3 separate regions of the Homo sapiens genome follow, and all the other regions are linked to region 3. The links are contacts of gene promoters, found by promoter capture Hi-C in blood cells and fetal thymus (Javierre and others, 2016). All regions are on one chromosome and are shown on one strand. The core of a region is centred on a gene start or on the middle of the fragment in contact, and the rest is flanking DNA. Distances in the headings are between cores, read along the strand shown. Region 1 holds the start of PLA2G15 (phospholipase A2 group XV). Region 2 overlaps NFATC3 (nuclear factor of activated T cells 3). Region 3 holds the start of ACD (ACD shelterin complex subunit and telomerase recruitment factor).

Region 1 (4,411 bases), core at 936-3,435, 590 kb before region 3:
GTGGTGCCAACCAGACCAGACCAGACCAGACCGAGGACCTGGGGAAGGAGAGAGGTCAGTGACCTCGAGATGAGGATAGAAGGAACAGACTCTGGAGGCCTCTCAGGCACTGTTGGTGAGCAGCACCCCCCTCTGTGTGCCCCAGCCCCCACCTGATATTGTCAATCCAGCAGTCAATGATGACAGGCAGCAGCAGTTCCAGGTTCAGCCAGATTGTGAAGTAGCTTTCGGTCTTCTTGGAGCAGAGGTAGTGCACCACTGTCGGCTTGTCCAGCTTGGCTTCCAGTTGGTTACCCAAATCACCAGGGACTGCAGGGGGCACAGGACATGTGTGAGCCCTCAGCCCGGCAGGTTCAAGACTCCCAAGAACTTTGATGTCTGCAGCAGACCCCCTGAAGAGCCACAGATAATATGGCAGACCTGTGCAGTTCCACATCTCAAATTAAAGCACAGTGCTGGTGGCAGGAAATTCAGAGAGCAGGGACCTTGACCCAAAGGCCAGGGAACCATCTTTGTGCAGAAAAGCTGCTACTGCTGTGTGGTGCAGAGATGCCTGTGGGGGGCTTGGGAGAGGCCTGACATGTTTGGGGAAGGGCCCTAACATTGTCTCCAACTCCAGATAAAGTAAGTCTCCTGGATTTTCACTGGAACATCCTCCTGGGCCATTCAGATTATTGGAAGGGGGTTCAGGGTGAAGTCACTCCCCACACTAGGCCTCAGTTTCCGTATCTGTTAAATGAGATCTTGGTCTGAATCACCCCCAGCAAACACAGACACACCTCTACACATGGTTTCTATGGTTAATGGACCCCGATGGGAGCTCTGCCTGGGAGGAGGGGCTTGGAGACCCCTTTGCATTCCAGAACCTCCAAAGTTTGGCCAAGGCCCTTGTCATTAGATATATACCTTCGAGGCAGGGCGCAGGGGCTCATGCCTGTAATCCCAGCACTTTGGGAGGCCGAGGTGAGTGGATCACTTGCGGTCAGGAGTTCAAGACCAGCTTGGCCAATATGGTGAAAGCCCATCTCTACTAAAAATACAAAAAATTACCTTGGTGTGGTGGCACACACCTGTAATCCCAGCTACTCAGGAGCCTAAGACAGGAGAATTGCTTGAACCCGGGAGGCAGAGGTTGCAGTGAGCCAAAATCGTGCCATTGCCCTCCAGCCTGGGTGACAGAGCAAGACCCGGTCTCAAAAAAAAAAAAAGATATATACCCTGGAGGCTTGAACCCAAAAGTCTTCCACCCATAGCTATCCCAGGCTACATAGAAGACAGGGTCCTGTTCGCCCTGAGAGAGGAAGAAGGAAACAGAACAGAGCCCTGGGCCACTCAGCTAAAATTCAACCAGACAAAGTATGCAGGACAGGCTGGTGGGAGGGAAATGAACAGAAACACAGCTGAGAGAAGCTTACATTGGCACCCGCCAGCCTACCAAGGGCCCAGGCCTTACTAAAGGCCAGAGTCCAGTAAGGTGCCAGAGAGCAGATCATCTGGAGGGCCCTAGCATGGCTGGGAGCCCGTATTGGAAACAGCCACCCTGAACCAGCACCATTATCACCACAGTCCAGGCCCTAGGGTGACTTCTCTCCATCCCAGCCATCCTATTCAGTGTACTCAGAACTCTGGGGCCCTGGTGACACCCAAATCCCTCCCCACTGCGTCAAAGCCCTTCACAGTCTCGTTACTCCCATTGACCTTTCGGGCCTCACCTGCCCCCACATGCCATGCTCTCGCCACTTCCCAAACACATCCCCGTTTAGGGTCCATGATCATTGAGTGAAAAACCAGCACTTGGCTCTCCTGGACATTCACTGGGAACTGACCGTAAATCCACCCTGAACAGGGCGTGCCCTCCCTGGGCACCATCCCAGTGTCTTCAGGGTGCCATGAGAGGCAGGGGCGGCACATGCCTTCACCTCCCTTCATGGTATGGGTGCAGAGGGAGGGAGTCCCTGTCATGACAGCCTCTGGATGACATGCCTGTGGACTGGGCAGGGCAGGGCAGAGACCCTGGTCACTGTCTCTACCAAAGGGGAAATGGTAAAAGAGGAAGTCACCAGATCTGCTTTGCTCAGATGCTCCTTACCCTGGTCAGGCTGTGTGGCCCCTAAAAATAGCAGTGGCCACTTCCTGAGCCCATCTGCGCCTGGAACTAGGAAAAGAGCCATCCACATGCCTTTCACCTCAAGTAACACTGGGAGGGGACAGCCTTACTATTTCCACTTAACAGATGGGGAGACTGAGGCTGCAAGAGGTGGAAATGGCCTTGCCTATGGTCCCTTCCCCTTGCCCAGGGTCTTCTGTATCACATCGCTGGTCTCTCTTTCCTCCACCACCATTTCAGGATCCACCCCTAGAGGATTCTGATCTTCTGACAGTCAAGGTCAGATCCCTGCTCTGTGCCCAGGAGCTGCTTATCCAACTGCCCACCGTGAGGTCTCCCAGGGCTAAGGCCAGCAGCCTCACTCCCTGAGAAGCTGGGCATGTTAGGACTCCTGCTGCTCTGTGATTCTGGGTGGGGTCTGAGGCTCTTCTGCTGTGACCAAGGATAAACAGACTGACTGAATTGATGAGTGCGGTTAGCATCAATCCAGGCAAAATGGCTATGTGCCATTTTGTGTGCCACAGACCACATGCTTCCTAATGCCACGCCCCTCAGACTTAGAACTCTGCAGGCCAACCCAGGACTCCCTGAGGCCCTCAAGATAAAGTTCAGATGACCCAACCAGTCACAAGTCCTGTGCAGTCCACTCCTCCTGTGACTCGATCCCAGGCAGCCTGAGATGCTCACGTCTCTCCCCGACCCATTACTCTCTCCTGGCCTTAGCTCCAGCTATATACTCCAGGAAGCCTTACTTGACACCCACCCATCCAGGCTGGGTTGGTGGATTCTCTGTGCTTGCCCCACACAGACTTCCTCTCTGGGGATCACTGTTATTCCTATCCTGCAAGCTTTGGGGAGGCAGGGCCAAGTCTGCCCAAATCCCATGGTGAACCTGGGCCTAGTATCCCCCTGGAGCTTTTCCTGGCTGGGAACTCCTGGTGGGGCCTGCCTGGCACCACCCTACCTGCCAACTCTACCCTTCTGTGATTTGCATCGTCCCCATTTAAAGTACTCTCAGCAGAAAGAGCATGGAGATCATGCTGCACTAGACTCCACGTGTAATTCATGCCTCAGATGCCTCTGCTTTCAGGAATCCTGGCTGGCCACGGACACACCAGCTCTGGATGGGAGTGACGGCCTCAATGAGGCACCCAAGGCCCCCCAGACAGAGGTCTCATCCCTGCCCATCCCTGCAAGGAAATACAGTGGCCGTTGTAGAGTTGCCAGGGTTGTGATCAAGGAGCGGGGTGAGCAGGGGAGGTCACCGAGCCTCCACATAGTCTAGTCCAAGCATGTGTGGCAGGGTAAGAGTACAAGCATGTTGCCTGACACAGGTTCATGGCCATTGTCCCAACCCTTTCCCCTGACTTCAGTTGTCTTCAGTTTCCCTTAGGCCTTTTCCCTCAGGCAATGCCACACATCTGATAAGTTGTGGGAGTTGGTGGCCAGCTAGGACAGCAATCCTTTCCCTAAGGAGGTTCCTTTCAGCAATGCCTTCTGGCATATGTGGCATTGGAGGGGTCGAGGGTGACAGCCTCCTAACCAGGCCCAGGTCGATGCAGAAGTCAACTCAGGAGCCACTCTACACACCCCCACCATCCCTCAGGAGTGGGGCTGAAGCACCTGTCTTTCCAGCTTAAAAATGGGATAAGGGGAGGCAAGGCTTGGGAATGATGCGGACAGGTGGAACTATGAATAACCAGATGGTAACTCTCCCACTCACCCCCATTTTCTACCAGGACAGGAGGTGGGGAGCTGACCACACCCGCGCCCAGCATGGCGGGAGGTGAGCCGGCAGATCTAGATCACCTAAGTGACAAGACAGATACCAATACGCTCCCCCATTTCGTGACTGGAACAGAAGCAGACCGGGAAGGCAGCCCCGCCCGCGGCCCGTCCCGCCCGACCGACAGATCCACCACGAGACCCGTGCCTCACCCAGCACCACTGGGGGGTGACGTCCGGCCGGGAGCGCTGGGTCCGCGAGCAGCATTAGCAGCAGCAAGAGGAACAGGAGGCCATCCGGGAGCAGCCCCACACGGTAGGGGCGGAGGTGGAGGCCCATGGTGTACGACGGTCGCCGCAGGTCCGGGATGCAGGTTCAGCTCTCTGGGCTCTCGCCTAGGCGGGGGCGGTGGCGACGCGCTTAACCCCGCCGCCCGCATCCCCCGCATCCCCCCGGCCAATCAGGGCCCGCCTCCCGCAAATGGCTGGCCAATAGGGACTCGCCGCCATATACGCCCCTCCCAGTCGGAGGTCGCCGCCCCGCCCTTGCCCAACCCCCTGCTTCCTGGACCACGCTGA
Region 2 (4,553 bases), core at 343-2,842, 560 kb before region 3:
AGACCTTTAGCAATAACTTGAGCCGAGTGTTAATCATGCAAGTCCTCTGCTTTCCTTCTCCCTCACTTCTCCCTCGGGCTGGGGGCTCTGGGTTCAGGCTCTCACCTCTAGATTCCTCAGATATCTTCCTGCTGGGACTGGCCAAAACGTAGGTCTCAACTGAAGCAAGTCAAAATTATTACTGGTAAACAAATCTATGATGTAATGTAAATGTAAGTCATTAGCAATCTTGATAAGCACAATTTTTAAGTTGTTAAAAATACTAATGCTTGCAATTTAATTTTTCAAGTCATCTTGAATGGATATATGCATGAATTTGCTAATTTATTTAAACTGTAATCCAGGCCAGGTGCCATGGCTCATGCCTGTTATCCCAACACTAGGGGAAGCCAAGGCAGGAAGATTGTTTGAGGCCAGGAGTTCAAGAAGAGCCTGGCCAACAAACAAAGTGACAATTTTTTTTTTTTTTCTGAGACAGAGTCTCCCTCTGTCTCCCAGGCTGGAGTGCGGTGGCGCAATCTCAGCTCACTGCAAGCTCCGCCTCCCAAGTTCACGCCATTCTCTTGTCTCAGCCTCCCGAGTAGCTGGGACTATAGGCGCCCGCCACAATGCCTGGCTATTTTTTTTTTTTTGTATTTTTTTTTTTAGTAGAGACGGGGTTTCACCGTGTTAGCCAGGATGGTGTCGATCTCCTGACCTCGTGATCCACCTGCCTCGACCTCCCAAAGTGCCGGGATTACAGGCGTGAGCCACCCTGCCCGGCCGGGACAATTTGTCTCTTAAAAAAAAAAAAAAGGAAAAATAAACTCTAGTCCACTAAGTATGTGAGGTGGTTTCCTATTTTTTTCACCAATTTAAGATAAGAGTATAAGGAATTGTTTATGCCCCTAATGTACAATTTTATCATTTTTCTTCCCCCCAATTTTTTTGAGATAGAGTCTTACTCTGTCACCCAGGCTAGAGTGCAGTGGTGTGGTCTTGGCTCACTGCAACTGCTGCCTCCCACCCAGCTAATTTTTGTATTTTTGGTAGAAACGAGGTTTCTGCCATGTTGGCCAGGTTGGTCTCAAACTCCTGACCTCACATGATCTGGCCACCTCGGCCTCTCAAAATGCTGGGATTACAGGCGTGAGTCACCGCACCCAGCCCTCATTTTCCTCCCTTTAAAGAGCAAAGTGAATTAAAAGCCTAGAACAAGAGTGAACAGTCCTCAATAAGGGTGCTAACAGGTTATGTAGGTCACAGGATCTGGCACACTTTTGGCAGCCACCATCTGTGACTTCCACTACCCCAACACCTGAATTTGCCTGTGCCACCACAACAAAAGTAGAGTCACAGCTATCAATAATGTTTGCTGTAAGAGAAAAAGTTCGTATTCAAGAAATGTTCAAATTGGCAGTCCACTGGAATGCTATTTCTACACACAAGAATGAGGTGCTTGAGTACCAATAGGACTCTTATTTAGAGCTATTTCCCATGCTTAAGAATTCAAAGTTAGAACTGACAAGTATATAGTATGGAACCTCACAACCAGGTAGAGAGGGGCAGGGTAACCCAGTGTGCTCCCTCTTTGAAGGGAGTAGATACACACTGCCATATACACAAAATCCCAACGGGCCTTTCTAATTTGCAATTTTGTAAAGGATTTCGGGGTATTTTTAGACTCCATTTATATGTTATTTCCTCTTGAAGCTGCAATGAACATTCACCAAAGTTTGGTCATGTTATTCTTTTCCTGAACCTGAAGATTAAAGGTATTCATCCCCTGGGTAAACAATTTTATGAAGGTGTTATTATTATTATTATTACTATTATTATTTTAGGAGACAGTGTCTTAGTCTGCCACCCAGGCTGGAGTGAAGTGGTGTGATCATAGCTCACTACAGCCGTGAACTCCTAGGCTCAAGCGATCCTCCCGCTTCAGAGCCCTGCCCCAAGTAGCTGGGACTACAGGCATGTGCCACCAAGACCAGCTAATTTATTTTTTTATTTTTATTTATTTTTTTTGAGACAGAGTCTTGCTCTGTCACCTAGGCTGGAGTGCAGTGGCATGATCTCAGCTCACCGCAACCTCCGCCTCCCGGGTTCAAGCAATTCTCCTGCCCCAGCCTCCCAAGTAGCTGGGATTACAGGTACCTGCCACCATGCCCAGCTAATTTTTTTTGTATTTTAGTAGAGGCGGGGTTTCACCATGTTCAGGCTGGTCTCAAACTCCTGACCTTGTGATCTGCCCGCTTCAGCCTCCCAAAGTGCTGGGATTACAGGCGTGAGCCACCGCGCCTGGTCCAGCTGATTTATTTTTGGGGAGGATAGAGACAGGGTCTTATTATGTTGCCCAGGCTGGTCTCGAACTTCTGGCCTCAATTGATCCTTCTACCTCGCCTCGGCCTCCTAAAGCGCTGGCATTACAGGCATGAATCACCGTGCCCAGCCGAGATGTTGTTTTTATAAAATAAAGACTAAATGTATTTTAAAAATGAAGCCTACATGTATGCAATTATTATAAAAGCACCATCTAGGCCGGGCGTGGTGGCTCACGCCTGTAATCTCAGCACTTTGGGAGGCCGAGGCGGGCGGATCATGAGGTCAGGAGATTGGGACCATCCTGGCTAACATGGTGAAACCCCGTCTCTATTAAAAATACAAAAAATTAGCTGGGCGTGGCGGCAGGCACCTGTAGTCCCAGCTACTCAGGAGGCTGAGGCAGGAGAATGGAGTGAACCCATGAGGCAGAGCTTGCAGTGAGCCAAGATCGCACACTGCACTCCAGCCTGGGTGACAGAGTGAGACTCTGTCTCAAAATAAAAAAAAAAAGCACCATCTAAACTAAATACAGGAAAAAATACTGAATTCACCTTTTTTTTTTTTTTTTTTTGAGAGGCTCTCATTCTGTCGCCCAGGCTGGAGTGCAGTGGCACGATCTTGGCTCACTGCAACCTGCACAGCACCAAACCTGGCCAATTTTTTCTTAAATTTTTGGTAGAAACAGGGTTTGCCATGTTGCCCAGGCTGGTCTCAAACTCCTGAACTCAAGTGATCTGTCTGCCTCGGCCTTCCAAAGTGCTGGGATAACAGGCATGAGCCACCATGCCTGGCCTGAATTCACCTATTTATGGCATGAGTTGAGAAATTAATTTGGATTTATCAAAATCTGATTAATTTGGCCAGGTGTGGTGGGTCATGCTTGTAATCCCAGCACTTTGGGAGGTTGAGACAAGAGGATCACTTGAGCCCAGGGAGTTCCAGGATGCAGTAAGCTATGATCGTGCACCACTGCACTCCAGCCTAGGCAACAGTGTGAGACCCTGTCTCCAAATAAAACAAAAAAAAGGGAAAAACCAAAAAATATTCATTTGATTTTTCAAGCTACAGACAGAAATAAGTTCCTGAAAATTTAGAAGGTATCTATGGTAGGCTGCTAATTATCTTAATTCATTCTTCCACAGTAATCGAGGTTTAGTTAGTCACACTGACACCCAGCTACAGAGTATATTTCCTGGCTTCCCCAGTGTAGCTAGGTATGGCCCATGCAATTCGTTTTCTTCAATGAAATGTGAGCAAAAGCGATGTACGTATCTTCCTCATCACTTGCTTGGCCTCCTTCTTCCTCCCTTTTTCCCATCCCTTCCTCGGGCTAAGACTCAGTCATGACTAAGTGGTTTCTCTGCTTTGACAAAACCTAAGGAGAAAGAGGAACAACAAATTGAAAGGAATCTTGATCTCTGAATTATCATGAGGTGTGAGAGAAATTTCCTATGTGGAAATGTCTCTGGGATCTCCATTATACTCACTTAGCTAATACTATTAACAAAAATAAAACTTACCACCATAATTATAACACAGGAAGAATATTTAAGTACTGTAAGCAAGAAAACCAGCTTGAGCTCTTTCATGCCAGATTTTTTTTTTTTTTTTTTTTTTTTTTGAGACAGAGACTAGATCTTGCTCTGTTGCCCAGGCTGGAGTGCAGTGGCATGATCTTGAAAGCTGGAGTGCAGTGGCGTGATCTTGGCTCACTGCAACCTCACCTCCCATGCTCAAGGGAGCCTCCTGCCTCAGCCTCCCGAGTAGCTGGGACTATAGGCATGAGCCACCATGCCCAGCTAATTTTTGTATTTTTTGTAAAGACAAGGTTTCGCCATGTTGCCCAGGCTGGTCTCAAACTCCTGGGCTCAAGCAATCTGCCTACCTCGGCCTCCCAAAGTGTTGGGATTACAGGCATGACCTACTGAATCCAAGCCTAATTATTTTTTTTCTTCTTTTTACCTTATACAATGGGGTGGACTGATAGATTTTTAACTAAGTTATCTCAAATTTCACCCTGAATTCCAGACAGCTTCCTACCATTGAACAGATTAAAAATACATGCACGATTTGAAGATATCCTTCACTTTTTTAATATAAAAAAATTTCACCAGCAATAGATCAGAGATTCACTTTTAACATTAGCTCTAATACTAGTAAAGAAAAATTATTATACCTTTTTTCCCCACCCAACGGATTGAGGGGGAAAATCAGTCCTCTTAAGACTCCTTCCTTTTTAAGAAACCTCT
Region 3 (4,586 bases), core at 1,699-4,198:
TCAAGATCTTTTCTCGGCCCAAAGTCTTCGTGAAGATGGACGACTGAGCCCCTTTGGGGGACAGTGGCAAGGAGCTCCATGCTGAGGATCGCCACATGGCTGCAAAGGACAGGGTTGGACCCAATCCCAGAGCAGAGGTCTGAAGACAGGAGCAGGGGGGTGGCCAGTGTCCCTAGAGCACTCTTCCCAGTCACCAGTGGCTGCAGAAGGGCCACCCTAGCCTTTTAACTGCTTTGTCAAAATTAAACATTTTGTACACAGGATTTGTTTCCATAAGAGCTTTTCTTACCCTAAAAATGCCAAGCCTGGTGGCCCTCCTGCTGCTTGATTGCAGGAAGTTCTCCCCAATGTCACTCCTGCCTTAGTCCAGAGCAGAAGGCAAGCTGGTGAGACCAGGGAGGAGGCTGGAACTGGGACACACAAGGACCATGACTGTATTTGTAGAAAACCTTTAATGTTCCCCAGGCTGAGGGAGCCCTGTGAGCCAGCTAAAAACCCCCACTGTGAAGTCCCTGCCATGTCCCAGCAGTGTGGAGTGGCATGGGGCTTCATCCTGACTGTCAGAGGCTGAAGCCACTACCATCTCCTCGAATGCGACTCCCCCAGCCAGAACTGGCCTGCTCCTGGTCATCCAGGGAGGGCAGAGAGCTGCGGGTACCAGGATGTCGGCAGCCAGGGTGCAGGTCCCAGCACGGGGGCCCCTGAGACAGCCCATTGGAACTGGGAGGCTGGCGGTTCTCAATGACCAGGTCACTGCTGTCATCGTCACTATCAGGCTCAGCAGGCCCAGGCCCTGCAGAGGGAGGACCTGTCAAACGCCCAGATGCCCCTCGCACCACGTTATTGCGCTGGTTGGCGGGCTTGACAGTGACAATGAGGTTATGGCTGTTGGCAACCATCATGTCCGTCACTTGGTCCAAGGTCTTCCCGGCTACTTCAATGCCATTGACCTCGAGGATCTCATCACTGACCGCCAGCAGCCCTGTACTCTCAGCCAGACCCCCACGTACCAGGCGGGAGATGAAGATTCCTGGAACCCGCTCCAGGCCCTGGGGAGCCACACGCACGCTCATGCCATCTCGGATGTAGAAGCCCAGGGGGCGGTCTGAACCATGCTTGTGCAGCCGCACCCGTCGGTGGGTCTCAGGCAGTAGGTCCACGTCTATGACTGAGGAAACCTGGCGGAAATCTTGGGGCAGGCTGATTAGCAAGGGTGGCCGGGTGCGCAGGGGTGCCACTGGCCGCAGCAAGAGCCCTTTCTTGCGCCGCTGCAGAGAGTTGGAGGCAAAAGCCAGGCCGCTGGAGTCAGCTTCTGCTGCAGAAGAGGGGGGATGTTGAGATCAGAGACCTGCTCCCCGACTTGGGCTGTTTACAGGGGGCACTGTAGCTATTTCCTACCACTTAGAGGTCAAGCCAAGGGCAGGGACTGCAGAGGGTGACGCTTGGGTACCCTGGGCATGGACTAACCCTTGTAGACCTGCCCCACAGACACCTTACCCCACAGAGGCTGCCCACTGTACCCCTCCTCACCCCGCTTCTGCACCAGTAGGCGCAGTGGCGGGGGCCCGCTGGCCAGGGCCCGGTGCAGGCTGTCGTCGTTGGTGAGGGGCAGCAGGTCGCCATGAGCATCCGTATAGCCAAGTAGCACGTCCAGGCCCGGGATCTGGTGCACCGCCCGCAGCAACCGCGAGAACTCCTGGAAGCCGCTCACCGAAGCGCGAGGCAGCGCGAAGCGTCGGAACTCGGCGTCAAACTGGAAGTCGGGGTTGGGGGAGAGGAGGAGTCAGGACAGCCTGCGCCCCTTTCTCACCGCAGGCTGGCAGGAATGGGAAAGATGCGGCTGCCGCTTTTGCGGCAGCCTTAAGCCCAGACCTCAGCTCCAGTACCAGGGACGCTGTCCAAGGTCTTCTTACCGCCCTCCAGGTACTCAGGCCACAGAGAGCTGGAGACCAGCAGTGGAGGAAGGAAGACGGATGGGGGAAGGCGAGCAGAAAAGCAGAATGGGACTTGGAGGATAGAGGGAAGAGGTGGCGGGGACCAAGGAGCTGGGAAGGGGAGAAAGAGGGAATTGGGAGCGCCTAGGGCCGAGGCCGGAGGAGCCCTTACTTTGCTCTTCACCTCGACGATGCTATCGGGACTGCGCGCCGGAGTCCTCTGCGGCCGGGCCATGGCGGGGCCGGGCGGGCCGGGGACGGTGCCCCAGGCGGCCCGCCGAGGCGCAGGTGCACAGCCCGGCCGGCCCGCCCGCGCCGCCCCGCCCCTGGCGGTAGCACACGCCCCGCCTTCCCATCCGGAGCGTGACGTCAAGGGGGCAGCGACGCAGAGTGGAACGCGGAGTCCACGTTTCCTAGGAAACGGAGCCGTGGATGGAGAGGAGCCGTCCTCCGCTCTTGCGTCATCACGCTGAGGTCCGCGCGCCCCCGGAGTCTGGGGAGCAGGGCTCCGCCAATCCGAGGGGAGGGCGAAGGAAGTACCATTTATTTAGCGCTGTGTGTGTGCTCTTATTTCCACTGGCCTTACAAGACCGTGCACTGTGTAGATGAGGAAACTGAGTCATAATAAATATGTGCTGAACCGTTCGGGGGTCACACGGTGCTGAAATGGTTTCGAGTCAACTCGCTCGGACGGCACTCGGCCTCAGCCTCCGGCCCTGGAACCCTCTCCAGGGACGGGACCAGCCCTTGTTCTGTTCCCTACCGGTACCACAGGAATCTTGACGAACGGCCCAAATGCCTGGCCGCTGTCAGAGTGACGCCGCGATGAGAGTAAACGGGCCAGCATCCCGTGCACCAGCGGGGTGGACCAGCGGGAGTCTGCACACAGGCCCCCGAGCAGGACGCCCTCGTGCGCAGGCGCGGGGTGTACGTGGGCGGGGCCTCCTCCTCCGGCCCCGCCCAGCGAAGGAGCTTCCTCTTCCGAGGAAAGGCGGGGCCTGGGCGCCCGCGGGAAACCCGGGCCCGTTGCATCCGCTGGGTGTAGCCGTGGGGATGGCAGGTTCGGGGAGGCTGGTCCTACGGCCCTGGATTCGGGAGCTGATTCTGGGGTCAGAGACACCCTCCAGTCCACGAGCCGGGCAGCTGCTTGAGGTGAGCCCCCATTCAGGGCCCGGAGACCGAGGCGGAGGCCCGGGGTGGTGGGATTGACGCCGCTCGCCGCCGTCAGGTACTACAGGACGCCGAGGCCGCGGTCGCGGGCCCATCCCACGCCCCTGATACGTCCGACGTCGGGGCCACGCTGCTTGTGTCTGACGGGACCCACAGTGTCCGATGCCTGGTGACGCGGGAGGCCCTGGACACCTCGGACTGGTGAGAGGCCCCGCGCGGCTCTGGAGGTCGGAGTCCGGCAGGAGAGCGCGAGGTGGGCGGGCCTTGTGTTCAGGTGGGCCCGGCAGTGAGGATCCTGCTTGTTGCAGGGAGGAGAAGGAGTTCGGCTTCCGCGGGACAGAGGGCCGGCTGCTGCTGCTGCAGGACTGCGGGGTTCATGTCCAGGTCGCTGAGGGCGGCGCGGTGAGTGGTGAGACTGCCTTGGGCGGGTTACCGGGCATGACTCTTCGTGACGATTCTGAGACCCCCCCTTCCCCCCGAACTCCTCCAGCCCGCAGAGTTCTATCTCCAGGTGGACCGCTTCAGCCTGCTGCCCACGGAGCAGCCCCGGCTACGGGTGCCTGGTTGGTAAGTGATGCCTCCGCCCTCCAGCAGCTCTCCCCACCCCAGCCTGGCCGGCGCTGGCAGACGCCTATGGGGTAGGAGGGCTTGGGCCCCCATTAACTACCCTTCTCTTTTTCTTAGCAACCAAGACTTAGATGTTCAGAAAAAGCTCTATGACTGCCTTGAGTGAGTCTGGGGTTGGGCTCGGGGGCCACGTGTTGTTTGGTGAGGGGATGGTGTATCTAGGTAGACAGGCCTCAGCATGGTTCCTGAGTCCTGGCCACTCTCTTCCTGTAGGGAGCACCTTTCAGAGTCCACCTCGTCCAATGCAGGTACTGTAGAGCTTGACCAGTGATCCTAACACGCTGTGCAGTGATCTCTCCAGCCTTAACCTTATGCTTCCTCAATAAGCTGTCTTCCCCCTCACCCTCCTGGTCCTCCCCTTTAAGCCTTGACTCATCCCATGGTCCCCTGTCCCCAGGCCTATCACTGTCCCAGCTTCTGGATGAAATGCGGGAGGACCAGGAGCATCAGGGGGCACTCGTGTGCCTGGCTGAAAGCTGCCTGACACTGGAGGGCCCTTGCACAGCACCCCCTGTCACCCACTGGGCTGCCTCACGATGCAAGGCCACGGTCAGTCTGGGGATTTGCTTGGGAGATGTCAGGGTGAGGAGTTGGGCAAGGGTCATATCCCACAGGACATGAGAGTAAACGGGCCTGTCCTACAGAGTTCATGTCCCACAGGGAGAAGCTGTGTACACTGTCCCCAGCTCAATGCTGTGCATCTCTGAGAATGACCAGCTAATTCTGAGCTCTCTAGGCCCCTGTCAGAGGACACAGGGTAAGGGGGACTGGAGAGGTTGGGGGGATACCTGGGGCCCAGGTCCACAGTGCTGATAAGACTTCCTGAACCCCCCAGGCCCTGAGCTGCCCCCACCA

The links. The method cuts DNA at HindIII sites, captures the fragments that hold promoters and counts their contacts. A CHiCAGO score of 5 or more calls a contact.
Region 1: a contact is called between a fragment that was not itself captured here and the fragment with the promoter of ACD in region 3, in 1 of 17 cell types (neutrophils). The highest score is 5.9, in neutrophils.
Region 2: a contact is called between a fragment that was not itself captured here and the fragment with the promoter of ACD in region 3, in 1 of 17 cell types (neutrophils). The highest score is 5.0, in neutrophils.

Annotation. Positions count from the first base shown.
Region 1 is chr16:68,245,188-68,249,598 of GRCh38, reverse strand. It overlaps PLA2G15 (phospholipase A2 group XV), which reads right to left and starts at 4,226. Exons shown (of 6, transcript NM_012320.4): 1 at 4,046-4,226; 2 at 153-309. The coding sequence starts at 4,172. RefSeq lists an enhancer at 3,260-3,760 and a silencer at 4,177-4,406. The HindIII fragment of the contact is 1,545 bases long and covers 1,413-2,957 here.
Region 2 is chr16:68,216,837-68,221,389 of GRCh38, reverse strand. The region is part of intron 9 of NFATC3 (nuclear factor of activated T cells 3); the gene reads right to left. Among named protein-coding and RNA genes, the nearest start is that of MIR6773, 14 kb to the left of the region's middle. The HindIII fragment of the contact is 8,696 bases long and covers 1-4,553 here.
Region 3 is chr16:67,658,622-67,663,207 of GRCh38, reverse strand. It overlaps ACD (ACD shelterin complex subunit and telomerase recruitment factor), which reads left to right and starts at 2,948. Exons shown (of 12, transcript NM_001082486.2): 1 at 2,948-3,086; 2 at 3,163-3,305; 3 at 3,413-3,506; 4 at 3,595-3,671; 5 at 3,789-3,833; 6 at 3,945-3,979; 7 at 4,129-4,280; 8 at 4,392-4,488; 9 at 4,567-4,586. The coding sequence starts at 2,988. PARD6A (par-6 family cell polarity regulator alpha) reads right to left here and starts at 2,248. Exons shown (of 3, transcript NM_001037281.2): 1 at 2,107-2,248; 2 at 1,531-1,753; 3 at 434-1,312. The coding sequence starts at 2,169. The coding sequence ends at 561. ENKD1 (enkurin domain containing 1) reads left to right here. Exons shown (of 7, transcript NM_032140.3): 7 at 1-263. The coding sequence ends at 47. RefSeq lists silencers at 1,982-2,461, 2,772-2,881 and an enhancer at 3,035-3,618. The HindIII fragment of the contact is 13,736 bases long and covers 1-4,586 here.